7 separate regions of the Homo sapiens genome follow, and all the other regions are linked to region 1. Evidence: promoter capture Hi-C in human tissues and cell types (Jung and others, 2019). All regions are on one chromosome and are shown on one strand. Each heading gives the region's core, a stretch centred on a gene start or on the middle of the fragment in contact. The rest is flanking DNA. Distances are from core to core; before and after follow the strand shown. Region 1 holds the start of GPC6 (glypican 6). Region 2 overlaps GPC6 (glypican 6). Region 3 overlaps GPC5 (glypican 5). Region 4 overlaps GPC6 (glypican 6). Region 5 overlaps GPC6 (glypican 6). Region 6 overlaps GPC5 (glypican 5). Region 7 overlaps GPC5 (glypican 5).

What was found. The method cuts DNA at HindIII sites, captures the fragments that hold promoters and counts their contacts. A contact is called where the count stands out against the background at its distance.
Region 2: a contact is called between a fragment that was not itself captured here and the fragment with the promoter of GPC6 in region 1, in 1 of the 25 tissues and cell types used here (dorsolateral prefrontal cortex).
Region 3: a contact is called between a fragment that was not itself captured here and the fragment with the promoter of GPC6 in region 1, in 1 of the 25 tissues and cell types used here (dorsolateral prefrontal cortex).
Region 4: a contact is called between a fragment that was not itself captured here and the fragment with the promoter of GPC6 in region 1, in 1 of the 25 tissues and cell types used here (lymphoblastoid cells).
Region 5: a fragment that was not itself captured here is called in contact with the fragment with the promoter of GPC6 in region 1 in 1 of the 25 tissues and cell types used here (dorsolateral prefrontal cortex).
Region 6: a contact is called between a fragment that was not itself captured here and the fragment with the promoter of GPC6 in region 1, in 1 of the 25 tissues and cell types used here (dorsolateral prefrontal cortex).
Region 7: a fragment that was not itself captured here is called in contact with the fragment with the promoter of GPC6 in region 1 in 1 of the 25 tissues and cell types used here (mesenchymal stem cells).

The regions. Positions count from the first base shown.
Region 1 is chr13:93,224,968-93,228,977 of GRCh38, reverse strand. It overlaps GPC6 (glypican 6), which reads right to left and starts at 2,171. Exons shown (of 9, transcript NM_005708.5): 1 at 1,362-2,171. The coding sequence starts at 1,521. RefSeq lists a silencer at 388-682 and enhancers at 736-1,578, 3,985-4,010. The HindIII fragment of the contact is 15,285 bases long and covers 1-4,010 here.
Region 2 is chr13:94,401,564-94,405,573 of GRCh38, reverse strand. GPC6 (glypican 6) reads right to left here. Exons shown (of 9, transcript NM_005708.5): 9 at 1-2,559. The coding sequence ends at 2,357. Among named protein-coding and RNA genes, the nearest start is that of DCT, 76 kb to the left of the region's middle. The HindIII fragment of the contact is 3,353 bases long and covers 1-3,305 here.
Region 3 is chr13:92,106,090-92,110,099 of GRCh38, reverse strand. The region is part of intron 6 of GPC5 (glypican 5); the gene reads right to left. Among named protein-coding and RNA genes, the nearest start is that of GPC5-AS2, 240 kb to the left of the region's middle. The HindIII fragment of the contact is 5,351 bases long and covers 1-4,010 here.
Region 4 is chr13:94,332,004-94,336,013 of GRCh38, reverse strand. The region is part of intron 6 of GPC6 (glypican 6); the gene reads right to left. Among named protein-coding and RNA genes, the nearest start is that of DCT, 150 kb to the left of the region's middle. The HindIII fragment of the contact is 7,041 bases long and covers 1-4,010 here.
Region 5 is chr13:94,307,258-94,311,267 of GRCh38, reverse strand. The region is part of intron 6 of GPC6 (glypican 6); the gene reads right to left. Among named protein-coding and RNA genes, the nearest start is that of GPC6-AS1, 120 kb to the right of the region's middle. The HindIII fragment of the contact is 6,244 bases long and covers 1-4,010 here.
Region 6 is chr13:92,174,683-92,178,692 of GRCh38, reverse strand. The region is part of intron 7 of GPC5 (glypican 5); the gene reads right to left. Among named protein-coding and RNA genes, the nearest start is that of GPC5-AS2, 180 kb to the left of the region's middle. The HindIII fragment of the contact is 3,014 bases long and covers 869-3,882 here.
Region 7 is chr13:92,190,926-92,194,935 of GRCh38, reverse strand. All of the region lies in intron 7 of GPC5 (glypican 5), which reads right to left. Among named protein-coding and RNA genes, the nearest start is that of GPC5-AS2, 160 kb to the left of the region's middle. The HindIII fragment of the contact is 3,219 bases long and covers 320-3,538 here.

The DNA of each region.
Region 1 (4,010 bases), core at 922-3,421:
GCGCCTCTTTTTTTCCCCCTTTGCCAATGCTCAAATTTATTTAAATGTGTTCATTTCAGTGTAAGTAAAAACCCTCACTTCTACAGCTTGAAAATCATAAGAAAATAGTAATTCCTCAACGTATCGAAACTGTGATGTTCTAAGATATCTGCAAAATGCTTTTCATCCATCCACCAGTTATTTGGCAAAAAGCAGACAGAGGCTGGTGGAAATTCAGCGTTTTGACTTGACGATCTGAGGTCACTAAGGACTTCAGCTGCCCGGTTTGAGCAGCCCGCGCCCTCGCAGCATCTCCTGGCCTCCCTCGGCCTCTCTCAGTTCTGTTCTTTAGCAGCCAAAGGATTATCTCTCCCCGACACGTTTCATTCACAGAGCCCCAGAGAAGCTCGGATTCGGTTGGAGCTAAGAGCCGGAAAACAAGCACCCAGACTGCCGCGCAAGTTGTCGGAGACCAAGTGCTACACACACTGGCGCCGAGAGAAAGGGTGGGCGCTCTCAAGCTCTTGGTGGAGCAATGCCAGTGGCCGGGCATGCGGGGGACACGGGGCCCCCGAACCCGGACCCGAATCCCCAGCTGAGCCACCCGCTAAAGTTGGCTGTTCGCTGGCAGACGAGGCCGGCTCCAGACCGGGTGGCAGGGTGTCCCCGGGCCCTGAGTGGCCAACAGCAACTGGGGAAGCACTGAGGAACCCTAACGGGAAAGCCCGCCCCACATCTGAAACAGGCAGCCCGTGAAGTCCCCAAACCAGCCTTGAAACGCCGGCGTCCAGAGGCCAGGTCCCCGGCGAGGGTCCCTCCCAGCCTTGCCCGCCCCCGGCCCGAGCGCCGGGCGCTCTGTCGCCCGAAGGACGGATAGGGGAGAGAGGGGCTGGGGGAGCCCTCCGCGTCTCTCCACCGCCCCTGCCGGCGCAAGGGCGGGAGTGGAGAAGGCGCCACTCAGACTGTGGCGCTGGGCAAACTGCGGTCGCAGTTCTTCCAAGTTTGCCCGAACCAGAACGCGGAGTGAGCGCCCGGCTCGGCTCTCCGTCTGCGCCTTGCAGCCGCCCCGGAGTGACCCGGGCTCCCTGGCCAGCCGGGCCTGAGCCATCAACTAAGGGGTAGAAGGGCGCGAGAGCAGCGGGAGGCGGGAGCCAGGGTGCTCCCGCGTGTGCACACAATGAGGCGGCGGAGACGCACACCTTCCCCCGCCGAAGAAGCCGCAGGAGCATCCGCCGCCCAACACGGAGACGCGGAGTCCCATAGCGGTGGCAGAAAGTGAGCACCAACTCAGCAACAGGGGGAAGGAAGGGGACGCCGGGCGGCCAGTGGGACGTGCGGCAGCCGAGGGCTGCAGCCTGCCCCTGCAGCGCGCCCGCGCTTACCTGCGATCTCCTGGTAGGGGATGTCCGCCAGGCTGAATCCCTTGGCACCGTACGCCTGGCGGACCTCTCCGCAGCTCCGAGCCTTCACATCCGCCCCGGCGGGGAGGGAGAGCAGCAGCCCCAAGAGGGGAAGAATCACAGCCCCGATCCAAGAAGGCATGGTGCAACATACAAATCCAGCTCGGTAAACCCCACGGCCGGTGCGCTCTTCACCTTGCCCCTCAAGCCGAAAGCCCGCCAGAGGCAGCGGCGCGCTCCTCGCCGCTGCCCAGCGTCACCCCCTTCTGCCAGCCGAGGGGACGAGCAGCGCAGCCCTCTGGACTGCGCTCAGCAAACTTTTATAAGCCAGATGGACGATGGCAAGCCAACAAGGGCTGGCTGGGAAGGCTGCTGCCTTGCTCCTCTAGCCCCCAGATGGAAACGGTGCAATCAAAACGAGGAAGAGAAGGAAAAGAAGTGTTTAAAAAACCACCATGGGGGTTCAGAGCTGCAATCCGAGTTCCGAGCCGCAGAATCCTGGAGCGCTGCGGGCTCGGCTCGCCGGAGTGTGCGGCAAAGGTGGGAGCGCGCGCCGGCTCCCCCGGGAGGGAGATGGACAAGCGAGAGCGAGTGTGTATGCGCGCGTGTGTCTGTTGGTGTGAGCTCGAGGTTCTTGGGGATGTGTGTGCGTGGAGGTATGTGTTGGGGATATACGAGATCTAGGGGAAACCTCAGCTTAACACAGGCTGTGGGAGCCTGTGAGAGTCCTCCTGAAATAGGAAGAGAGAAATCCTGGAGACAGTCACTGGAGGCAAGAGGGAAGGAGAAAGGAGGGGGGAGAAAGAAACGTGCTACACATTGCACAGCCGAAATTCACAGGCCGAGTCAAAGGCAAAACCTGGACTGGATCTCTTCCTAGTCGGTAGAAAGGGGAAAAAAAGAAAAAGAAACGTACCTATTTTCTTATTCACTTCACATCCTTTATACCGATCTGAAATGACATCAATAAACAATCTAGAAAGACAAGGTAATTTTAAGTCATTAACATGTTATTAAGCTGTATTTTTATGGAGGTAAAGGATAACGCAGTTCCAATTGTTGCTCTTAATATGTGTCCCTGACCTACTGAAACACAAAGCCAGAGTGGAAATAGTCATAGACGGGAGTTCATGGGTGGCAGAGCACAATCACGGCTCTAACTAGTTGCCTAATTTCTGTTTGACTTTGTTTTTTTCTAAAGGCACACATTACAGACTGGTAGTTCTTAATTTTTAAAGGTTTGGTTCTAGACTCAACAATTTCCCCTTTTTTTATTTCAAATATCTCATAGCCTTCGATCAGAAATCATTATGCTTAGGTTTCTAATGTGTGGAGGATCGGGAAAGCTAACAACCAGACCACAGAAGCAACAAGAAAAGGAGAGCACAAGGGTCAGAGGTGCATAAAGGGACATAATGGGGGAAGGGAGGTGATTCCTTCCCTCTCACTAGATGCCCTCACATAGTAGACTTAACATTTTCTTCCAAGTTAACATAATTCTCAAGTGGAGAATCAATCCAATTTCTTCTTCCTGTCTCCATTTACACTGATGTTCTGTGAACGGGATAAAAGTGAAAATTCAGGTTTGCCTAATTGACTTTGTTATGCTAATGGACGCACTAAAGTCAGCTGGCAGAAGTGTGTGTTGAAACCCAGAGCTCCTGAAACTACTAAGATAGTTTAATGAAAACCAAGACAAAATAATAATAATAATAGTGTTTATTCACTTACGTGGCTATGTGTCATAGGTCAGCACATTATTCACAAACTACTACAAGGTAATGCACAGTTTTGTGGAGCTCACCTATGAAGCTACACATGAAGATGTTTTCCTGATGATGATATGAATGACCAGAATGACTCATGAAGTTTAAATCTTTGAGTTTGTCATTATCATCACAACATATTAGGTACATTGTCTTCCTCTCTTTAATAAATTCCCCCTCTCCTAACCACCAAAAAGACTCTCAAGATTCAACCTCATTTAACCTTTCCAAACGCTTTAAAAATGAAGTCGACTTATTTACAGAGCCACTTTGTCTTCTTCAAACTCATAGGTCAAGACAAAACAAAACCAAAAAAAAAAAAAACAAAACAAAACAAAAAAAAAAACTCCATAGCTAAATCTTTCTGAAAACGCAACACACTTAACTTTTTTTCTCTTAAAATTTTAGCACAGTTTTTTGCTTTCACAATATTTATGCTAACTGGCAGATCTTAAATCACTGAACTTATTTTCCCTCAAGTCGGAAATCAAGATAAAATATATTCTGGTTATGTTTGTGGACAAACGGTGAGGTTGATAGGCTCAGGAATTGCAGTCAAGTTATTACTTCTGTCATATTTGACAACGTGACTTCCTTCAAACTTCTCTTTGTATCATAGTAAAGCATTATGCACTCCAGAGGAAGAGGGTAAAAACACACACTTCCTGTCCTACCACCTTATCCTGGGACTCATTGTAATTTACCCTGACTCAGTATAGCAGATAATTCATTATTTTAAATGGAGGTAAAGGAAGAATGGGTAAAAGCATAGTATATGTGGTTTTAAATTATTTGAAGATCAGCTAATTGTTAAGTATTGAATGAGCACTCAATACAACTTTATAGCACTAGACTATTGCACACC
Region 2 (4,010 bases), core at 380-2,879, 1.2 Mb before region 1:
AAAGCACAGGAAAAACAAGGCATCCTGATCTAGTTCATAAAAGAGAATGCAGAAATATTTTAAAAAGGAAAGACCTGGAGTTTAAAGCCATAAAAGCAAGTTATTATTCAAATAGTCTGGAAAATCAAGGTTGATTTAATTTGTATTGCACCTTAATTATTGGAGAAAGACAATACTGACTTCTGAACACAGAATGAAATGAGCAATGTAAATGACTGGTCCTTCATAGAGAAGTCTTATGTGGAATTTGTGGTAGGAAGCCAAAATGTGGGCAGTGAAATGGATGGTTTTCTAGGAGTATGTAATGATGAACTAGATGGTTAATTTCATAAAGGTTTAAATGAAAGAATGCCACAAAGTCTCTCATCATCCTACATTTTATATTTCATTAGGCATAAAGTAGCAATAGATGCTTGTAAATACTTTCTGTCTTGCAAAAGTGCTCAAATATACTTAATACTATTGTGCCACATGTGTTCTACTTAAATGTGATGACTAAATCAATAACTAATTTTAATTTTGATGAGAACAGATTGAAAAATACCATTTACGTGTCAATACTGTCGATGAGTTAATTAAAATGTAACTGGCCTACTATGGTGTCTTGAAACATTACTTTTCCCTACTCCAGATGCATCATAAAAACTAAGAAACATATGGATAGCCAACTGTATTCATAAAGCCCCCAGTTGGGTTTATTTTGCTTCTCTCTGTCAGGGGGAGCGAAAGGCCTGGCTTTGGCCTACTTGGTGAACAGGTTAGGCTGTGGCTCTAAACTGGCCTATTGAGTTAGGTAATGTATCCAAGTGCCAGGCAGGAATCCTAGGCCGAAGGTGTTTTACATGAAAGCAATGGTTTTTCATGAATAACATTCTTTACACATACAGTTTCCATCACCGGTAAAGCCCTGCACACCAATGGCTCATCCCATGAGTTTGGTGTAGTCTGGAGCACCCAGGCTGAAGCACACTCATGCAGAAGGGTGTGCCCTGGCAAATTTTTAATAAATGGACAGTTAGATACATAAAAAGTTCTCTTTCTTGATTCTTGGTGCTCACCGATCACTGAGGAATCCCTTCTTTGAGCAGCACAAAACAAGAAGAGCTGGTTGACAAAACATTTTCTTACAAAGGTGTGTCAACCCTGAGCTTGGAATTAAGAAGTTAAAATCTGTGATTTATATATACATAGATATAAAAATAGATGATCATACTAAGACTAAAAAAGTGAAAGAAATCTCCATGTCAATACTATATATATATATTTTTTGTCTTGACTTTTTTTTTCTGTTGTGAGTTGTTTTGTAAGAGAATGCCCTTGTGATGCAGAAACCAACTGACACAAAGTAAATAGTTAAAAATGAAAACTCAGGAATGGATCTAATTGTGTTTCAATTCATTAAAAAAACTATTGTTTTGGGAGGGTAATGAGCACAGGGGCAGAAACGTCTAGTTAATGTCAAACCTGTGGCAAAAGCAGAGATTGTATCATCAAAGATTATTTTCAATTGAGACTCTTGAGGAAGGTGAATTGATGGGGGTAGCTACTAGTAATTGAAGATGAAGGGGAAAATCTGTGCCAATTGGATACAGCGGACAGACATTAAGGGAATTAAGAATAATGGTGCCATTACTAAATTGAAATTGGGCAGAGTAAGACAGAGGTACTGAGTTGTAGTAATTTGTGTTCTCATATTAAAGACGGGATTCCAAATTTAGTATCAGTACCTCCAGATTAATTTGGTGTTGTTTGGTTAGAGTGCAAGATGATACCTCCAAGACAACAGTGCATTTTCACTACATTTAGAACAAACTTTAAGCTTTCTCCCCATAAGCATTTTTAAACCCGGATTTGTCACAAAAAAGCTTACACTGGAAGTTGGCTGTCAATGCTGAACTTACAGTGTTAAAGTTCATTTATTTTTCTCTGTTTGCTTTTTTGTTGAAAATGTAGCTGTCTTGGGGTTTGGCCCGATTTTACAAGGAAAATTATTTTCTTTCTTCCTTTTTTATTTTAAATGAGAAAAAAAAAACCCTCACAACGTGAGATTCCTTTACTTCTGCAGCATAAAAGCAAATGAAGGTAAGAAAATCTCCTGGTACGAAAAATTTGAGTAAGAATTCTCTCTAGAATAAACAAGGTCCCCACAGATAGCTGAAGGAAAGAGGAAGCAGTTCAGTCTGGCACCCGGTACTCTTTGGGAAAACAAAAAGGGAGGCAGATTGCATTACTGCTCTCTTCTCATAGAAAACGGTAAGTTTTTGTGGCATGGTCCATTGTCCAAGAGTGTAAGAAAAGAAGTGAGTTGGCCATTCAGATAGCTAAAATGCAGTTTCATCTGACCAAAAACCCAAGATTATCTGCACAGTCTCTGCAGTGCCAGGACAATGCAGGTGAGAGACCAGGAGAGCAGGGAGTGGCCACGCTGGGCTGCAGAAGAGTCCACCTCTCTCCGGTCGGGATCCACTGCGGGGGCCTCTGTGGTGACAAACTCAAACTCCGTGGGACACACGTCATCCATGCACCCACTGCCACTCCCTGAGCCACTGGATTCATCACCTAGTGTGGAAAGATTGAAAAAGAAAGTTAGACCACTGATATGTTTAGGCTTTGTGGCCCCACCCAAATCTCATCTTGAATTGTAATCCCCATAATCCCCACCTGTCAGGGGAGAGGCCATGTGGAGGTAATTCAATCATGGTGGTGGTTTCCCCCATCCTGTTCTCGTGATAGTGAGTGAGTTCTCACGAGATCTGATGGTTTTTTAAGGGGCTCTTCCCCCACGGCTTGGCACTTCTCTTTCCTGTCACCTTGTGAAGAAGGTCTTTTGCTTCCCCTTCGCCTTCCACCATGATTGTAATTTTCCTGAGGCCTCCCCAGCCATGCTGAACTGTGAGTTAATTAACCACTTTCCTTTATAAATTACCCAGTCTCGGGCAGTTCTTTATAGCAGTATGAAAACGGACTAATACAACCAACCAGGAAAGAGTGGAAACAGAGCTCAGCAGATATGGGGCATGGTGGTGGGAGGCAAAATCTCCCCATCCATGGTCCCCCACCCTACCCAACAGGATTGTTTTTAATAGGCAGTGGTGTGATGAGTGGGTGGACTGTACAGAAATAGGTGTTTGAAGAACAATATCAACTGATACCTGAGTTATGCAACCCAAGGAATGTGTGAACCCCAGACTCAAGGGGAGGCCACACCTACCATGTTGGCCTTAGACATTTCTTCTGGCCAGTACTTAAGTTTAAGAAATTCCATTCTTTGCTCTTTTTATACTCAGAGCCATTGCTCTAGGAAGATACCATGCTTTTTAAAGGATTTTAAAAGAAAAATAGAGGAAAACAAGTTCTACAAATAGGAAATGAGAGGAGCAGCAGCAATAGTAGTGAGAGGTCTCTATCAATATGACTTTTGTCCACCTTTTCCCCACCTGTGTTCTCCTGAGAGCAAGGCTGGACTCTGTCCCAGCCAGCTTGTCCCTTTAAACCAGAAGTTGACAAACTATGACCTGCTGCTTGCTTTTGTATGGTCCATAACTCCAAAATGGTTTATTTACATAAAAGTATATATTTTATAGATATCCATAAAGTCTATTATCTATCTATCTATCTATCTATCTATCAATCAATCAATCAATCATAGGGTCTGGCTCTGTTGCCCAGGCTGGAGTGTAGTGGCGCCATCATAACTCACTGCAGCCCCAAACTCCTGGGCCTAAGTGATCTTCCTGCCTTAGCCTCCTAAGTAGCTGGGACTATAGGCATGTGCCTCTGTACCTGGTGGTTTTTATAGTTTTAAGTGTTTGAAAAAAATCAAGTGAAGAATATTTTATGACATGTAAAAAGTGTATGTGAAATTCACATTTCAGCATCCATATATGAAGTTTTATTAGAATCCAACTACCCGTTCACATACATATTATCACGTTAGACCAGCAGTGTGGGGTAGTGGTGGCAGAGACGATGTGGCCCTCAAAGATTAACATATTTAATATACGGCCCTT
Region 3 (4,010 bases), core at 904-3,403, 1.1 Mb after region 1:
ATATAACTAGAGTAGTCTCTCTTTGCTGATCACCTCATTATATGGATACTGCCACCTAAATAAATTTTTCATATACCTATGTATCTTTTATTTTTTCTACTGGATATATTATATTTATCATTTCTCTGCTTCCTTATTCTGCATCTGCCACTGTTTTGTAAGTTTCTTAGGTATAGGGACTAGTTCTAAACTAATTCAATGTATATTCATAATATACAACATAGTATAAGCCACATACACTATCTTATAGTGATTGATCAGATAAATCAAATGAAAGAATCAAAGAGTACCATAGAAGATATCTAGCTCAAATATTATTTTTATTGATTAATCAACAAAATCAGCATTTAATAGGTTTAAGAAATAATTTTCAGATTATTCTTACCTTAAGAGTCCTGAAAGACTACGGTAATGGGGAAGACATATACAAAATTTAAGATGATCAGAAGGTAGATAATGATACTCAAATTAAACCTGTCATTGTTTTAGTGTCTCATCATTCTATAACCCTGGCTTCTATAAGTCTGGTATTTTGTTGAATCTAAATTTTCATAGTCATTTTTCATCAAAAAGAATTTTAGATAGTCACTAAAAGCCTAACGGAAGAAATCATTCATGAGAGGATTTTCAACTGAGGGGCAATTGAAGGAAAGAGTTTGAATAGAGTAAGACCACAACAGTTTCAGTGAGACAGTGAGAGATTACAAAGATCTGATGATAGATGTGTTGATGGAGACATGTACAGTTGCTTCTGCCTATAATCCTGGCACTTTGGGAGGCCAAAGTAGGCAGATGACTTGAGTTCAGGAGTTTCAGACCAGCCTGGGCAACATGGCAAAACCCCATCTGCACAAAAAAAATAAAAAGGAACTGGGTGTGGTGGTGAGTGCCTGTAGTCCCAGCTACTTAGGAGGCTGAGATGGGAAGTTTGCCTGAGCCCAGGAGTTCAAGACTGCAGTGAGCCGAGATTGTGCCACTGCACTCCAGCCTGGGTGACACACTAAGACCCTGTCTCAAAAAAAAAAAAAAAAAAAAAAACCAACATATTGATACATACATAGAAGGCGCTACAAGAAAACAGCAAGGCAGCAAGATAAACATTTGAGAGCTGTGATTATGAGGGTCTGTTTGAGAAACCATGTGGAAAAGATGAACTAAGGAAGAATTTTTTATATTTCATAGTAGAGATGTACATTAGGAGTAATTTACATACGATGGCTATTACACTATTGATAATTAATGTTGAACAGGTAATCTTGGCAGGTCTAGAAGTGGCCTGGTGATACTGACAAGTATGATGCTATTAAAGGACAATAGAAACAGAGTAGGATGAGAGAAAAAAGTTCAAGAGGAGATCCAAAGTAGAAATATGTTTCTACATATAGATTTAGTTGAGTATTTACTACCACAGGAAATTTGTCTAGAATAGGATTGCGAATAGTCAACATGAGAGTCTCTGATCACATGTGAGGAAACAAATTTTAGTTGAATGCTAGAAATTAAAATTATTTTGTGGTGATTTACAGTTTATGTGGTGACAAAGCAAAGACAGTGATTGTAGAATATTCTAAGTTCTTCATTGCATGGAAGGGCTGACATGATAAGACACTGGAGCTCAAAGGCCTAGGGTAAAATCCCAGCCCTGCAGGCTCCTTTCTATATGGGAATGAGCCTAATGATTTCGCAGGGCATTAATTTTAATAATGTCTAATGGGAAAGATAATAATGCATTACTTGAAGTATGGTTTTCAGAATTAAATTACTGTCGATACATGTGAAAACAAGAGGTATCTAGAAAATCATAAGTCCTCTAAGGATATTTTTCATAAGTACCCTTTTATTACCCATCACGCAGTTGACATAATAAATTATAATATTCTTTACTGCTATGTATAATTATTGTTGATGTGGAGTTTTAGAATGAAGGAATTTCAAGAAAATATGTAAAGAACAAGGCAACAGAGCATAAGAGGTAACAGCTATGACAAAGGAAAGGATGACTAATGGAACAAAGTGGCTGGGTTGGAATACACAGGTCAGATGCAGGAATTAGCTCTGGAAAAAGGAGACTTCTCTCTTACTTTGAAATTGGAGGGAAGATTATATAATAGGTTAAGAGGGTGAAACTTTCTTATGGAGAAAAAGAGCAATTTGGACAAATTAGTATTGGATGGATTTAGGCAATTTAGAGAACAAATCTGCTCAGGCATTTTGTGGTGAGTCTCTGGTGATACTGGGTTTTTCTGAAAAGAGAAAATGGTTTAGAGCAGCATTTCTAGTAATGAGGTAGAGCTTGAGCAATGAAGTTGATTAAACCATTTGGTCAATGTGTTACATTTTATTCTGTACAGTGCCTTTATCTCTAAGCTTTAATGCTCACATATATGGGGTACACTGTAGGACCTGAAATATATTTTCTGTTTTTTAATCTATAAAATAATCCATACAGAGCAACAAATATTTCAGAGAAAGGCAAAAAATAATATTTTCTAGAATATTCTGTCTTCAATTATTGACAATTACAACTATCAAGTCTAAGACTAAAGAAACTCAAGGAAGTGCATATTAATTTCTCAGAGTAATATGCACAGTTTTTTAAAAAGTGGCCTTACATTATTCTGGAAGTAAGTCTGCAGGGTTATTAAGAACTCTTTCAAGTGCCCCAACACTGAGAAAAGTCGATGTTCCTTAATATTATAACCTAGGCATATCACAAGAAACTGTCCTAAAAATATACATGAGCTCAGAAATAATTTGTATTTACCAGGTATACTGCCAATTTGAATGAAAAAAAAAACTCAGCTGTTTTGATAAAAATAACAAACATGCCTAGGAATCATCTTCCTTGAAGGGAGAGAAGGGTCTTGTTGAACTTGAAAAAACTAAGCAAAGTTGGTAAGTCATAAGGGCATCCTTCTGTTTACCTATTCTTCACTTAATTTTAATTCATTTCTGACACTGTCACCAACTGAAAAACGGCCCAACTAAAAAAAACTTATAAAAGTGAGAAAAATTGTGTTCTATCCTAATCCAAGATATCTAAACCAATTTTACAGATAGGAAAATATATTAAGTGAATGATGTAAATACATTAATATAGGTAAAAACCCCTTTGAAAGTAAAGTTTGCACATAACATGAAATACAAAAAGAATTACTGTAGTCTCAAAGGAAGGAGAGAACCCGTGATGGTGAGTCAGAAAGGTGTATGAGCAAGTCATCTGTTGCAAGGTGATGGAAGGAAATTTTTATGCAGGCATTCAATATCAGAGTCAGAGGTTTTAATGATTTTTATCTTCAGAGTTGGAGACTAGAAGATCTGAAATAGGAAATTTTTGGCGTATCCATAGAGCGAATGGAAGCCTTGGCCAAAAACAATGTGCTACAACTCATGAAAATTAGCACACATGAACAATTACCTAAAGAGTTGCAGAAGATGGTACCTTTTCATTCGATTTTATGTGAACTCTTATTCTTCTCTTTTACGCTTTGTATCCTTGTTAACTCTTCCATTGTTTTCCTCAGCCTATAAGGTACTTTAAACATTTTATTGAACTCTAAGACAATTTTTATGATTCAATTCATATATAAAATTGTCTTAAGCATGTTTCGTGAGTGAAAAGTTCAATTTTTAAGGCTTATCAAGTGAAAACCCTCAGTTCAGCACTCATCATATCCAAAATCTATGTGTCATATAATTAAAATAAATATTTTCATACATGTAGCTCAAATGAGATTCTTATATTTTTCAAAATTTAACTCAATCTTTTATTTTTACAAATGTGCATATACTGCCTGTTTAAGTGCTTTACCTTTTTATTTATTCTTTGAAATTGGGGGTCCATCTTTTTTAGATTTTTAGGAGATCCTCACATATTTAAATGAGTTATTAAGTTGATACAACCATTTTGGAAAAATAATTATCATTATCTTCTAAATTTAAACACATAGATAACTTATGACAAACAGTTTCAACAGAAACACCTGAATGTCCATCAGCATAAAATGGAT
Region 4 (4,010 bases), core at 398-2,897, 1.1 Mb before region 1:
ATACTTCCTGGGCTTCTGTCCAAGTAAAGATTGACACACTTCTCTCTGACTCTCCTCTCTACACCCTTTATGCTGCAGATGACCAAACAAGAAGGAAAAAAAAAAAAAAAAATCACAACAACAGTGAAGAGAGCAGGGTCTTTCAGTAAGACAGGAAGAGAACGATGAGGGAATTTAACAGATGGTGCTGATTTTGGCATGGATGTTCTCCCTAAAGTTCAGATAATAACTCTGGAGTCTCTATAAGATAGTTGATTCCCAAAAGGTCTTTATTATTTCAGAAACATGCAGTTCAAATCCACACACATATAAAACAACAGATAGCTTGCAAAGTGTCTTGGTTTTCTTCTCACAAGAACTCAAGAATCAACCCACTGTTTGTTAGATCCTGATTCTTTCAGGATTGTATATTCATTCTAAAACAGTGTTTAAGGGACATTTTATGGCAACTATTTATCCTACTAGATGTCAAACCTAAAAGACTGTAAATTTGCCTCTGAAGTGTCCCAGATTGTCTAAGGAACAAATTATGTGTGTTATTCGTAAAGGTCTCTGGACCTTTTTGAATATGTTTGTGATTGTACCTGATACTACTTCTTGGCAAGGATTATATATCAAGGTGTACCACCCAGTGTGGCTCGGAGACTCCTGGAAAAAGATCCCAGGAGGATACATGGTTTACTTTGTCTACTTCCTATAAGGGTTTGTGGACATTCAGCATATCCTATCCACCTTAATTTGAAAGGCTTTTTCCTGCTTTCATATGGTAGTATCCTCTCTATCACCTTATCTCCATAGGGACTTCTTTCTGATCCTGTTTTCTTCCCTTTATAGCGTTGTTGCCCTCCAGAGGGCCAGAACCACCATGGTTTTGGTAAGGATAAGACAACTCACTCTTAAGTACTTTCTAGATTATGCTTAGTAGTAACCCTTTGGGCCGCAGCACACTCCTGGACTGAGAGTCATGGACCAAGCCCATGAGTAATAACTGCATGTACTTCTACCTCTGAAGGGTTAGTTACAATCACAATAAATAGTTGCATTTGCATGGTGTCTAATAGTTTGACTGCCTTCACATACCTTTAATCACCCAATCACCATCAATTAGCTATAAATTAGGTATAACTATTAATATTACTCTTTTTATAGATGAAGACTCTGGGGCTTAGGGAGGGGAAGTAAAGGGCAGAGCTTAAAGCTGGATTTCCGATGGAAGGTCCAGGGCTGGCTCTAGAACATTACGCCTGATGTGCTCAGGAAGACACTCAAGCAAGGGCTCTGGGGCTGAATCCTTATTTTCTAGGTCCCAGACTTGTGCTTCTCAAACTGGGTTGTGCTTTGGCACCACCTGGAGGGCTTGTTAACACAATTTTGGGGCCCCACTTGGAGTTTCAGTTTCCGTAGGTCTGGAATGGGGCTTGAGAACTCGATGTCTAACAAGTTGCCAGGGAATGCTGATGCTGTTGTCCCAGGAACCATAATGAGAAGGCCACTGTTTCAGAATCTAGGACAGTGGTCCTCCATCTTACTTTTACACTAGAATTTCATGGCATGCTTTAAACATCTATATTGATACCTGCACTCTACTTTAGAAAGATTTGGTTATTGTAGAGAAGAATCAGGGGGCACTGGTATTTTCTGCTGTTCCCCAGGTGGTTGTAATGTACAGCTGAGGTTGGAAGTCACTGTTTTAAGGCAGGAGCCAGCAAACAGTGGTCTCCAGCTGGCTGCTGCTTTGTAAATAAACGTTAGTGAAGCACAGCCATGCTCATGTGTTTATGCATTGTCCATGGCTGCGTTCAAGATAAAAATGTCAGAGTTGAATGGCTGTGACAGAGACCACTGGGTTGCAAAGTCTAACATATTCACCCTCTGGCTCTTTCTAGGTAATAAAACAATATAGAGGGAACTACAGAAGATACCCTATACCTTCCAAGTTTCAATATATCTTTCCAAATCTTGATAAAGGCAATGTGGGGAGCATCAGAAAACAGAAAGAGGGTGAGCTCTTCTATAAGGGGCTTGACTCAAAGTTGTCATTTCATTTTTTTAAAATGACCTTTCTCTCTCCTTCTCTGCTCTCTGTACACCCATTCTCCTTTCCCACCATCTTAATAGTTTCTCCATCCTAATAGTTGCACAGGCTTCTCCATCATGCATTTGGACTCAGCTTCACTGGCTATCTTCATTGCATGCTCCCCTACACATGAGCAGCCTGTTGCAGTGGAAAGGGAATGGTAATTGGAGTCAGAGGATCCGAACTTGAATCCTACCTCTGCTACTTAGTTGTGCAATCCCAGGGAAACATACTTAGCTTCCATGGACCTCAGTTTCCTGACTAGCAAGACAGAGAATGCCCTACTCTTAGGGTTATTGCAGGGATTAAGACAGATGACTTGAAGTGCATTGCAAAACTGCCCAATGTCTTACACATTTCATTTACTAATTTGGCCATAAGTTCTCAGGAAAATGTACAAAGTGCAACTAAAGGACAATGCATTGATGTATTGATTTCCTTTTAGGATTCACCAGGAAGGGATAGGAACTGTACCTCTTCTAAAATTGGGTTTATCTTAGTTTGACAAGAGGGGAAAAATGCAAACTTTCTTAAGCCGCTGTTTTTATGACTTACTGGAATCCCAGGATTAGCACAGAGAGCCTGCACACTCAGATGCTGACCATAAGATGCCGTACAGCACTGGCCATTAGTGAGATTTATGGCCATGACTGCATCTAATGCATAATCTGGAAAAGGGCAAAATATGAGTTGAGAAACTATCTTTACCTAAAACTTCAAAGTTAGAAATGAAGTGGAAGAAATTTATAGTAAAAAATTAAGGGACGCCCTGAGTATTTCACAGCTAACTTAGGTGGCTCACAAGACTTCCTGGCTCAGCACTATATTAAGAGGGTAATGTATACCGATATTAATTCATAAAGCAGATGAAGACCCTGGAATCCTTTCCCATCCCTGATGCACAGACCAATTTCATCTCTAAATCCCTCATCTATCGCCCCTGGGAAAATCCTGTCATGTACAGAATCCTCGCAATGATTTCCAGAAACTTCATGTAAACATACAGAGAAAAGAAAATGTTAACCTCTCTCATAACTCACAGGCAGTGGCCAAAGAGAAAAGTGTCTTTCTTGTAAACAGAGATCCTCACATCTGTTACTTCTCTTGCAATCTCCTGACATCAAATTCGCTCATAGCAAAACTCATTACTGGTCAATTCAGTGAAAACCACCAAACTGATTTTGTTTATAAAAAATTCCAGAACATTACAGGAAACAAAAACCTTTTCGAAAATAATCTATTTCTTGCAACAATTCGACACAACGGCATTATTATTTCTATGAAACTATCATAAGATTTTAAATCACATGTTTTGAGCTCTACTCAGAAGGCAGATTAGCTGCATTTTGGTATCTCCATGCCAGAGACCAACGGCTGAGCCAGCCCCACACCAGAGAGAATAAACTGGCAACAAAAACTATGTACAGAGACATTAGGCAAAGACTTCGCATTTTCCATTTTGATAAAAACTTGCAAAATGGAACAGCAAGAATATAATTTGAGCAATCCGTCAGACCCAAGACTGCTAGTATCTTTCTTTTGTTCTTTTATTCCCCCTACTTGGAACTTTCACAATTTATCACATTGCAGATCTAGGAGCACCATTTGAATAAGATTAGGTGATGGCTAATTACTACAGTTCAGCTGAATCCAGCTGCCATCCATGGGCCTTGTTAAAGCCCCCAGTGACCAACTTCTTGGCCTCATAAGCACTTATTGGAAGAAACCAAAGCCAAAAAAGGATGAGAAAAGGGGCCCAAAAGAATTATAAAAGAAAAAATTAAATTTTTGAATATCGGGTAATAGTCAAAGGAATGTCCAGTTTCTAGAACCTGTTCGGGGAGATTCTTCCAGCCTGCTCTTATCCACCTCTCCCTTCTTTAATTCCTGTTGCACAAAGCATTACTGCCTCATAGTTTGCAATGACTGAGAC
Region 5 (4,010 bases), core at 1,117-3,616, 1.1 Mb before region 1:
GAACCTGGGAGGTGGAAGAAGTAAGATTCCATCTCAAAAAAAAAAAAAAGTGTTATTAGCATGCAATGGTATTGTGGAAACCAGATTAGATAACTGATTATTTTGGTTGATATAGTCAAGTAAGATAGCCTGAGTGTTCTTGTCCTCAGCCCCATATTGGGGGTAATCTTTCAAGTAAAAAATATCCAATGTTCCCTCTCCAAATGCTCTGAATGCTCTGAAAGATATCAGGAAATTCAAGTAGAAAACGAAAAGCAAACAACCTATTTTTTAATCCCTTGAATTTTCTATGTCTCAGCTAATGGAAACATTAGCACCTTATGCATGAGGGCTGATGTTGGTTTGTTCTTATTAGCACAAGAAGAAAAAGGCCAATATATTCTAACAGGGAAGAGCTAGTTTTCCAGGCGGACTACGCATCGTCTGAACATTGGGACAGAATTTAAATCAGCCATTCGATGAGCTGGTCTTCCACCAAGATTAGATTGAAAACTTGGCCATTGGAAAAGAATATGAAAATGGTTGTTAACCATAAATCACAAGCAGAGAGGAAATGACTAAACAAGTTGGCTATGTGCAGTATTCAATCCACTCCAGATAATTTGGAAAGGGATAGTGGAGGAGGAATTTCTCAGGGACTCTCCGGAATGACTGTACAAAGACAAATGGGAATGAGAGGAAGAATAAGACCAATGCTTACACTATGCTGCATAGTCCGCCACACAGTCCTCTGGGAAGCAAGAGGAAAACAAATTTAAAGGAAAAAGAAAAAGAGATTATTCTATACATAATAGCACAGAACAGGCACAAAGTTGAGCTTTGTTGGTTGGCATTCCACCCATCCCCACCCCAAATTCCCTCAGAATGACCAGTAGGATATTTGAGAAATCCACATCCACAGTACAGTGTTGAATACTTACTGGAGATTTATGGCTCTAAGTCATCACCAACTTGTTGAGTTAATTTCCAAACCTGGCTTTTTTTTTAAATTTACTTTTATAAAATATATTCCTCTAAGATACACCATGCACAGTCCATTTTTACTCTAATGAATCAGCTGGAATAAAGTAACTGACACTCCCTGTCCAAGTGCGTCTGTGAGCTGTAGAACATGTTGTGCTCTAATTTTCTGAGCTGTACAACTAATTGCCTTTTACAGAGGCTAATTTGAAATACCTTTTGATGCTCAGATCTTAAAAATCGAGCTATTTTGTGCTGATTTATTTTTATACTTGACATTTCCAGTGAATTGGAACCGTCTTTTAAAAAATTATAGTTTCACATCAAATTATGTAAGAGAATTTGCAGAGTACACATTTAAGAATAAAGGAACATAACCAGTCTCTTCCTGAGTACAAACAATAATCTCTGGCCTGTTTGATTGAAAGTCATTAATAGTCAGCTAGGACAGAGGGGCTTCTAAGGGGAGTTTGTTGGTGACAAGAAAGCAACGTGATGGTAGGATGACTCTGTTAACTGAATTACTGCAGTTGATAACATTAGTATCCTCAACAAATCATGGCTGTTGGCGGTAGGGACTGCGATAGACTCAGATGAGTTGGCTTTCCATGAGCAGCTAAATTTATAAAAATACATTCACTCATTCTTGGATAACACAAACCACTTTAGGGTAGTATGTCTGAAAGCTTCTGACTACCTCAACTGCTTCTTATGTGTATATAACTTTAGAGGAGCAAATGGAAATGTTCCCTAGAGATACAAAAGAATTTATAAGTTCCTTATAAATATAATAAGATGTTAAATGATGGAACTGGTGTATTTTTTAAGAGAGAGTTTTGTTTTCAATTATTTTATATAAGGTATAGCAGCAGTTTACTCAGCTTGGGGTTGGTAGTTTTATTTTTAAAACAAACCCCATAACGACCAGTTCACATTAAAAAAATAGCTTTAGAATAACTGATATAAGAACATTTACCAACAGGGCCCAAAGTTATTACCACAGGTACTAATTTAAATGGCACTAAGAAGTAACTCTCCAAGTGCTTTATAGTTATTTTCATTTTGGCAAAAGGGGTGGGGTGATTGGAGTAGTGTTTTGATATCGTCCTTGGAAGCATTTTTCTGCTGAAACACTTCAAGAAATGAAGAGAAATCTTTTCCAATTATCCTCCTTTTCTCAGACACATGCTTCTTATAAATATTCAGGAAACATCTTTTCCAGGGAAAATTAAAACAGGAGTAGGTAATATGAGACTTGTTTATAAACAGCCTAAATAGGCTGTAATGGATGACAGGCCCATCTGGATAGTTTCGCAGTGCATCCTTCTTAAAGATGAGCGTGTTTGACTGTTGGACTGGAGTCTGGCCAAGGATAACTCCCCCAACTTTCCAGTGTTCAGAGCTATATTGGAACCCCAAAGGACGAAGGCCTCAGGAGAGCCAATGGCTGCTGAGACTCTGTTATTAGCTTTGGACCTAACTCGTGTCTCTCAGGAATAACCTCGGTATAGCTCCGTTTGATGCGCAAACAGTGCCTTGTTCTCAGGAGCTGAGCAAAGTGGGCTTATGGCTGGCTGTGCATTACACGTCACTAATTCTTACCATTTGGGAAGGGATCAGAATTTAATAAAAAAATCAGTAAAACTGCAATTTTCACTTACAGAGCCTGAAGCCACACCTTTGAGGAAGTAAATGCTACATGCTGTCTGAGAATGTTTTAGAATAAAATTGGCTTATTGATTTAAATACTTAGGCACAGAGTCTGGTCCTTGGCTTTTACTTGTGATGATACGTTTAACCATTACCAATCATTTTCAGAAAAAGATGGATAAAATATATTTTTGAGGGGTGCAAAAGGTAGAAGATTTTCATTCTGTTTGCTACTTGTCTATACTCTCGAGACCTTTATAGCTAGAGCATTTTGAACATTACCAATAAAGTTCCTTTATAAAAGGTTCAAATCTCAATTTTCATGTCCATCAGATTTTAAACACCAGAGAAAATTCTCGAAGTGTTGATGCTTTACTTAGTTTATGCTAAGCTGCAAAAACATTGTCTTTAGAAACATATTTTTCTTGCTCTACTTCCCCTGTTTAAGGGTGTGTGTTTATTTCTCCCGGGGATGAAGGAAAACGGCTTCTCTGTTTCAGAGGGAAAAAATTAATTAGTTGCCATACATATCATTATATTATTCAAATTCAGTGCAATTTTAACTAAGTGCAAAATGTACCCAGTTCTTTTAAAACTTCTTATTTTATTGTGGTAAGGATACTTAACATGACATCTACCCTCTTAACAGTTTTTTTTTAAGTGAACAATACACTATTGTTAGCTGCAGGCACAATGTAGTACCTCAGATCTTTAGAACTTATTCATCTCACACTGTACTCCTGTTCTTAAATTAGATTTTACAAAAATTCAGAAAAGACTGAATTGTTCCAATAACTAAGTTAGAGCCAGCAAAAATGGGAAAAAAGGGACCAAACCCATACTCACCATTTGTCCTCTGGTTAGAAAGATCTTGATATACAATGCAATTTGTAAAGTAAAATTTAAACAATATAATCTAATGAAAACCATCATTTCTTTAAAACAGCTGACTAGTTATTTGGTGGAATCTAATTGGTTGTTTAAAAGAAAAATGGTGACTATTTTTAAACTTTTCCTGAAACTGCAATAGAGAATAGATGTAAGCCGCTGAGCACGTTGGCTCATGCCTGTAATCCCAGCACTTTGGGAGGTCGAGGCAGGTGGATTGCTTGAGCTCAAGAGTTCGAGACCAGCCTGGACAACATGGCAAAACCACGCCTCTACAAAAAAATAAAAAGCTGGGCATGGTGGTGTATGCCTGTGGTCTCAGCTACTCAGTAAGCTAAGGTAGGAGGATCACTTGAGCCCAGCAGGTCAAGTTTGCAGTGAGCCATGATCATGACACTGCACTCCAGCCTGGGGCAGAGTGAAGCCCCGTCTCAAGGGAAAAAAAAAAGAATAGATATAAGCCAGGTAAAGTAGAAGGTTGCAGCAACTACAAATATCTACACTAGAGAGAA
Region 6 (4,010 bases), core at 1,126-3,625, 1.1 Mb after region 1:
AACTAGTTTATTTTTAAAGAAAATGTTAAAATTCCTATGCTGGTAGCAGTTTGGACTCAAAAGATGCAAAATAGCATATATTAATGTAAGGAATTAGCAACTGTTGATATATAATATTAACACATTTTAAGGAGCTGGCATATAAATATATAATATACAAACACTATACAAAAATTTAATAATAGTATATATATAGTAACTTGAGGTTAATAGTATATATCAGAAATTACTATACTGCTGGTATATATGTATATATGTTATATATAAATATATATATTAAAATGATGGGCCACAAGTTGAAGGCACTAATAGGCAAATTAACCAAAGTGGCAAATACCTCCAGTTTTATATGCATTTTCAGTGGAATGGTATGAATGGCTCTTTAAATAAAGAAAACTCATATCCACATCTGCTGACATGCTTTTCAGGATTTTTGTTTGACTACTGCCAATTTGAATCCCTAGACTGGAATAAACGCAGAGCCATCTGTTCTGATGCGCCTGCTGTGACAGTACTAGGCTCACTGAAGCAATTGTTTCTATTACCCTTAGTATTCATGATAAGCTTCCCTTTGCGGCATCCCTTCGGAATAAATTGAGCCTAACTCGTATCAGGAATATAATTAGGTTAAGAGCTTGGTAAAACTTCCATGTGCCAGAATAGTTTCAGTCTTTCAGCTCCAAGCTTCCAGAAATGTTTATTGGTGGTTTGAACTTTTTATGCTATTCCCAGTAATCTTCCCCTTCATTAGCAAATGACTTCTGCAAGTAGAATACTGGGGCATCTTTAATTATATATAATGCCTGAACTGAAAGAAAATAGAAAAATAATGGTATATCGAAGCCAATTTTCGTTGAGCTTTGTTGTAATTAATTTAAACTAAATAGTACTGTGGATGCTATTCTGTCACTAGTCTTCTCAAGGTAGGAATGTTTAAAAGAGGAGGCTGAGTTTAGGCATGTTATTCAGTGTTGTCACATGAAGACCACAAAAAATATTTATCAGACAGAGCCTGTGAAATAAACACAATTTTGCTGACATAATACAGAAGCTTCTGGGATGCAAGAAATCATTTTAATCAGAGACTGTGCATATCTGATCTAGGTTATTCTGAAGAACACAAAAAACATACTAGTGGCTATTCTGTTATTAGAATATAAAAGAGCAAAAAAGAGCTTTATAAGGTTGAGATGTAAGTAATTTGTATAATTATAAAAATATAAAAATTATATGAAGGTACATATTTGAAATCATTGGAAAGATCAACTTTCCATCAAGATAGGTTAATCATTTGAAATAAGGAAAGTGAGATGGGATACGCTAACACACCTTTGAAAATATAATCCACATAATTTAAGGCATTGTCATTACATTAACAGTGAAGATGCAGAAGCCCAGCAGATATGATGAAAGTCAGACAAGGGGAAGATGCTCAGGTTGCCAGAGGCTAGACTGGCTTAAGGGGCTAGAAAACAACATGTTCTGATACAAGTTGAGATGCCGTGTAAAAGCCAGAAAGCTTGTGGTTTTCAGAAGCCAGGGGTCTGTAAGCCAAGAAGTTAACTGAGATGCAAAACAACAAGCTGGTGACAACAACGGGTATCCAAAATCCAAAAAGGCAGATCAATCAAAACAATGATGGAAATAAGGGTATCCAAAATCCAAAAAGATAGATCAGTCAAAACAATGACGGAAATAGCAAAAGATGGGAGGTCATGTCTGGCTTGTTTACAACTATAGCATAGTGGCAGGGTGAAGCAGTGCCTGTTATATCATTGGTAGTTAATGACTGATGAAGGGATAAATAGATGGAGAATTGAATTATCCAGCTGTAGATACAGTATGTAAAGAAGCAGTGTATACCTAGGTCTCCAGTAAAGGTAAAGTGGTGCCTGGTAGTGTGCTGGAAATCAGTAAACTAGGGGCTGAGAAGTGCTTGGATGTGGCCGTTGAGGTGAGGAACCACTGGGCCTAGCTCCAGGCACTCTGGAGGGAGGTTCAAAAATGGTGGGATTAGGAATCTGGGGAAGGTTGGAGGTCAGATGGAGAGAAACGGAAAGGGAGGTCTTAGAAATCTAAAAGCCATTGAGACAAAGGAAAATCAGAATCCAAAGCTTTGATGCCTTGGGTCAAACCCTTCATTTATTTTTTTTCAAATGAGCATTAGCTATTGGTTGTTAGAAGATGCAGACAGGTGCCCCTGGTCTGTTGTTGAGGTTGAACCTTATCTAACTTAGTGTGCTGTGTACCCAGTGGTTAGGAGCATAAATGCAAAGAAAACACAAACCACCACTTACTTCTCGTCCTTGTCCCAGTCTCAGTGCCTGGAGAGATGAATGTTGCAGTGTGACAGGAAGCTGTCTTGAGACACAAGGGCTACCTCATGAAAGGTATGTACTTTATCCAGGGAGAGCCTTAGCATACAACAGAACTCCTTAAGGTGTAGTCTCTGGATAAGCAGTGCCATCATCATCTGAGCATTTTTTGGTAATTCAGAGTCACCGGCTCCATCCTAGACTTACTGAATTAGAAATTCTGGGGTTGTGGACAGTAATTTGTATTTTCTAAAGTCCTTCACGATATATGGTGATTCTGATGCACATTAAAATTTGAGAACCACTGTCTTAGAGGAAAACAAACACTAGCAATGGGTAAGGAGCAAACTTCATGATAATGGTAAAGCATGTTTCTGGCTAGATATAGATAAATGGAAACAAACATACAGAGTCACCATTGAATCTGAAACCTAAAAAGTAGGAACAGAGCTTCCAGGATTCTGTATCTGAGATTCTTCTATATGAGGAGACAGGTTTGAAAACTACTATTAAATTGGTAACGGGGTCTTGTATTTAGCCTCTAAAGAGATAAATGTGCCTGGCTGTAGGGAGATGTTTTTTTTTTCTTTGAGGAATATCACATATTTGCAAGGGCAATAGTTAGGTTTCACACTTGCTAATATAAAAAGATTTCTAATTATAATTGCTCACAGTGTTACAGTTAATAAAGAACAGAATAGGTTAAAGAGAAGTCTGAGTTTTTTTAAGTGACTTTTCTAAACTATAAAGTACTAAGCCCACAAGCCCCATCTAGTGGCCTCTGTACCAAGAGTTCAGTAAACGTTTCCAAAGGGGCGCCCACCAACTTTAGAACCGCAGATAAAACTGAAAGCAATTCAGCTCTTAGATAGCTGGACTACAGCAGTAGGCATCACAGTGATGTCATCATAACCTCCTATTCAAATGTTCTTCAACTTTATTAGAACGCACTACTAAATTTTGACATAATCTAGAATCAGAAAAGAAGCAAACACTTATTGAATTCCAATTAGGTGTCAAGCCCTATTTAGATGCTTTTATATATGTATAGATACAAAATATGGTATAGATGTAAACATAACTATAGCTAGATATCGATAAACAGAAACAAACATACAGGGTCACCATTAAATCTGAAAACAGGTTAATAAATATATGTTTCACTAATATGCCAACATATAATAAAATAATGTTTCCAGAAATTCTAATGAAAAAATCAAAGTTCGGCCAGGCACAGTGGCTCACGCCTGTAATCCCAGCACTTTGGGTGGCCAAGGCGGGTTGATCACCTGAGGTCGGGAGTTTGAGAACAGCCTGACCAACATGGAGAAACCCCGTCTCTACTAAAACTACAAAAAAATTTAGCAGGACGTGGTGGCGCATCCCTGTAACCCCAGCTACTCGGGAGGCTGAGACAGGAGAATCGCTTGAACCCAGAAGGCAGAGGTTGCGATGAGCTGAGAAGGGGCCACTGCACTCCAGCCTGGGCTATAAGAGCGAAACTCTGTCTCAAAAATGAAGGTTCAAGGGAGGACTTTTCGAAGTCTCACAGTGTGTTATTTTAATGGTACTCTGCACTTTACGATAACATTTTAAATTCTATGACATCGCTATTTGTTTTTTCTTCTGCACACTATTTTAACCTTGAGGAATAGAACCGTATTTTTGACTAATCTGTTTTTTATTCCTGATGCC
Region 7 (4,010 bases), core at 680-3,179, 1.0 Mb after region 1:
ATAACCTTATTTTTTCCTGATAAAAGAAGTCTTTGAATTTGTGCTGTTAGCCATTCAATCATGACCCTAAAATCACTTTCCTTCTCACTCTACCTTAGATTACAAGGAAAGGCCTGAAAGACCATGTTGTTGGAGAAAGACCATTGGAAGTGAAATCTGATGGGGAGGCTAATACTAGGTCAGAAAGAGCCTAATATACACCCCCTGCTCATTCCTTTTACATTTCAGTTTTATTTTTCCTAGTCTACTCTCTGATGCATTTGAGAATACCTGCAGGCTGCAGCAAACTGAAACTGATTTCCAAATTCACAGAACACACTTACCTAGCTATGGCCATTATGTAATTTCTGAATGAGGATACTATTTTTCAGTGAGGAAATATGCAAAAGTATTATAAGACAGGTTTGTGGCAGTGAATGAACCTTGAACTTATAATCATGGCATCTCTGTAGCCTAGCACCTTTCAAAATTGCTCAGACAGGAGACTTGTTTTAACTGTTTTCTTTCTCATCTGCAAATAATGGATCCTAATATCTAGTCCACAGTGACGGTATTAGGATCAAGTGTGTTTTTATGAGGGAGAGCCTATGGCATGCATCACACACCTTCTGAACATTGTCATGTCCTGAGTGTTGCTCTGGAGTCGGAGGTACTCACTATTTGCATCCCAAGCACACAGGATGAACTGTGTGAATTCAGGCAAGGTGCTTAAACTCTCTGATCATCACCTTGTGTTTTGTTTTAGTTGTAAAATGAGGATAATAATCTGTACTTCATAAGGTTGTTATGAGAGTAAATTGCCATAAAGAAGTAATAGTACTTAAATGGACTCCATAAACTATGATAATTTCCATTATTCTTCCTCCCTTCTTTCCTTTCATTCGTATAACAAAGATGTATTAAGTTACTGTTGAGTTTCTGCTATTGGCCAGGCACTGAGTTCACCATGGTACTAAACACTGCAGATTCAAAAAGAATATTATTTCTCTTCCCCTTAAAATGTATATAGTTGGATAAGAAGAAATAAATAAGTAAAAATATAGCAGTACGTAATTACCTGTGCAACAAAAAGCTGTATGGAGTATAATGGGAACAAAGAATGGAGTGGTTAATCTTCTTGGCCAATAAAAGCCTCTTGAAAGAGAATGTAGTGTACATGTAATTTAATTAAGGAAGTATCAGAAAGGATGCAGGACTTCTGGGGCAGAGCCGAATGGGTGTAGCCACTTAGATCCTGCCCAAAGAGTGTCAACAATTCCTTAGCACACCAGTAGGAGTGAATATAACTGTCGGATTAATTTGTTTACAATGATAGGAAAATGGTTTAAGTTTACATTTCAGAGTTGAACTATAATCATTCTTAAGAGGTAGTTTTATCATTTTAATCAAATCTGGAGTTAAATAATTCTCTCTTGTCCATTATCCAATATAGGATTCTCTCATCTATTATCCAATATAGGAAACTCTCTGGGAATTCTCCTTTCCTGTTAGTTACATACACAAAATAAAGTGAATACTGTTACTCTTTCACAGTACTGGAGATATGGAGTTCAGAATTTGTATTGTTTCATAATATAAATGCAAATATGTATGCTATTTGATTCCATTTTGAGTTATGAACCAGTAAACTCTGCTTTTTTTATTGGAAAAAGAAAATATTTTATTTCAATGTAAAATTTTGTAGGCAGAAATTGAATTAATAATATTCTTGAAATTTCTACCTGAGCATAATATGCAATATATTTTTTATTATTTTTTTTTGAGACAGAGTCTCGCTCTGTCGCCCAGGCTGGAGTGCAGTGGCGCCATCTCGGCTCACTGCAACCTCCAGCATCCTGGTTTAAGCAATTCTCCTGCTTCAGCCTCCTGAGTAGCTGGGATTACAGGCACTCGCCAACACACCCAGCTAATTTTTGTATTTTTAGTAGAGATGGGATTTCACTATGTTGGCCAGGCTGGTCTCAAACTCCTGACCTTGTGATCCGCCCGCCTTGACCTCCCAAAGTGCTGGAATTATAGGCATGAGCCACAGCGCCTGGCAGCAATATGTTTTTAATAAATTCTCAGTAAATTTTTTTCAAATTATTTCAAATTTTAAAAAAAGTAATAATGAAAAATATGTGTATTTGTCATGCAAACATAATGGTATTAAACTTATTTGCTGTAAAGTATGTTCTACATTTCAGTAATCTGCAATCCCATACGTGGGCATAGACATAAAATTAATCTAAAATGAAAGCTTTTTAAATTATTCCCTTGTCAGCTAAAATTAATAAACACTGTTCTCTCCAATAGACATCTAATTTCATAATTACCAAATGCTTCAACTAAACAATACTTTTTTTCTCCACATTTAGAATTAAAAATAAACTCATATTGCTTTTTATAATTTTAAGACAATTTAGAAGAAAGAAATGTGAAAAAAGGAATGATCATTGTTATCACGCATTTATTTTTACTTACTAAACCTAGTCCATAAAATGTTGGATAATTTCCTTGAAAAATGAGCTCCATATGTATATATTAATTAATAAACTTTTAGAGCAGTTATATGTTCACAACAAAATTGAATGGAAAGTACAGAGTTCCTATATACTCCCAACCCCACTCGCACACCTTCCCCATTTATCAGTTTCCCCTGCGAGAGTGGTATATTTGTTTTAATAAATGAACCAACATTGACACATCATTATCATCCAAAGTATCAATTGACATTAGGGTTTGCTCTTGGTATTGTACGTTCTCTGAGTTTTGACAAATGTATAATAACAAGTATCAACCACTGTAGCTTCATACAGAATAGCTTCACCACCTTAAAAATTATTTGTCCTCTATCTATTCACCCCCTTCACCTCCTAACCCTTAGCAACGACTAATTTTTTCACTGTCACCATAATTTTTCCTTTTCCAGAATATTATATACAGACAGTCCCTAATTTACAATGGTTTGATTTGTAATTTCTTGATTTTACTGTGGTGCAGGAGCAATACACCTTCATTATGTTCTGTGACTTACAACGGGGTTGTGTCTGGATAAACCTACTGTAAATTAAAAATATCCTGAGTCAAAAATACACTTTCAACCTACAATATTTACAATTTACAATGAGCGTGCAATCCCATTTGGAAGCTGAGGAGCATTTTTAGTTAGAATTACAGAGTCTTGAGCCTTTCCAGACTGGCTTCATTCTTTTAGTAAGAGCATTTAATATTCCCCCATGTCTTCTCATAACTTGATAGCTTACTTCTTACAAGTACTGAATTATATTCCATTGTCTAGATATACCGCAGTTAATTCATTCACTTACAAAATGGCAACTTGGTTGCTTCCAACTTTTGTCAATTATTAATAAAGCTGCTGTAAAGATCCATGTACTGCTTTCTATATGGATATAAGTTTTTAATTCATTTGGGTAGTGCAATTGATGGAACATATGGTAAGAGTATGTTTAATTTTCTAAGAAACTGACAAACTCTCTTTCAAAGTGGTTGTAGCATTTTACATTCCCGTCAGCAATTATTGAGAGTTCCAGCTGCTCCACATTCTCACCAGCATTTGGTGGTGTCAGTGTTGTGAATTTTGGCCATTTTTATAGATGAGTAATGATATCTCATTTTTTAAAATTTGTAATTTCTTAAGACATATGATGTTGAACATGTTTTTATATTCTTATATGCCACCTGTATATCTTAATGGTGGGATGTCTATCAGCCTTTGCCTGACGTATTTTGACACTTTGTTATTAGGTACATACACATGAAGGATTGCTATATCTTCTTGGAGTATTGACCCTTTATCACTATATAATGCCCCTTTTTTATCTCCAGTAACTTTCCTGTCTGAAGCTCACTCTGTCTGAAATTAACATAGCTAGTCTCAGTTACTCTTGATTATGTTCATGGTATATCTTTTGCCATCCTTTTGCTTTAATCTACATGTGTTTTTATATTTTAAAGTGGGTATTTTATAGACAACATATAGGTAGGTCTTGATTTTTCATCTATTCTTA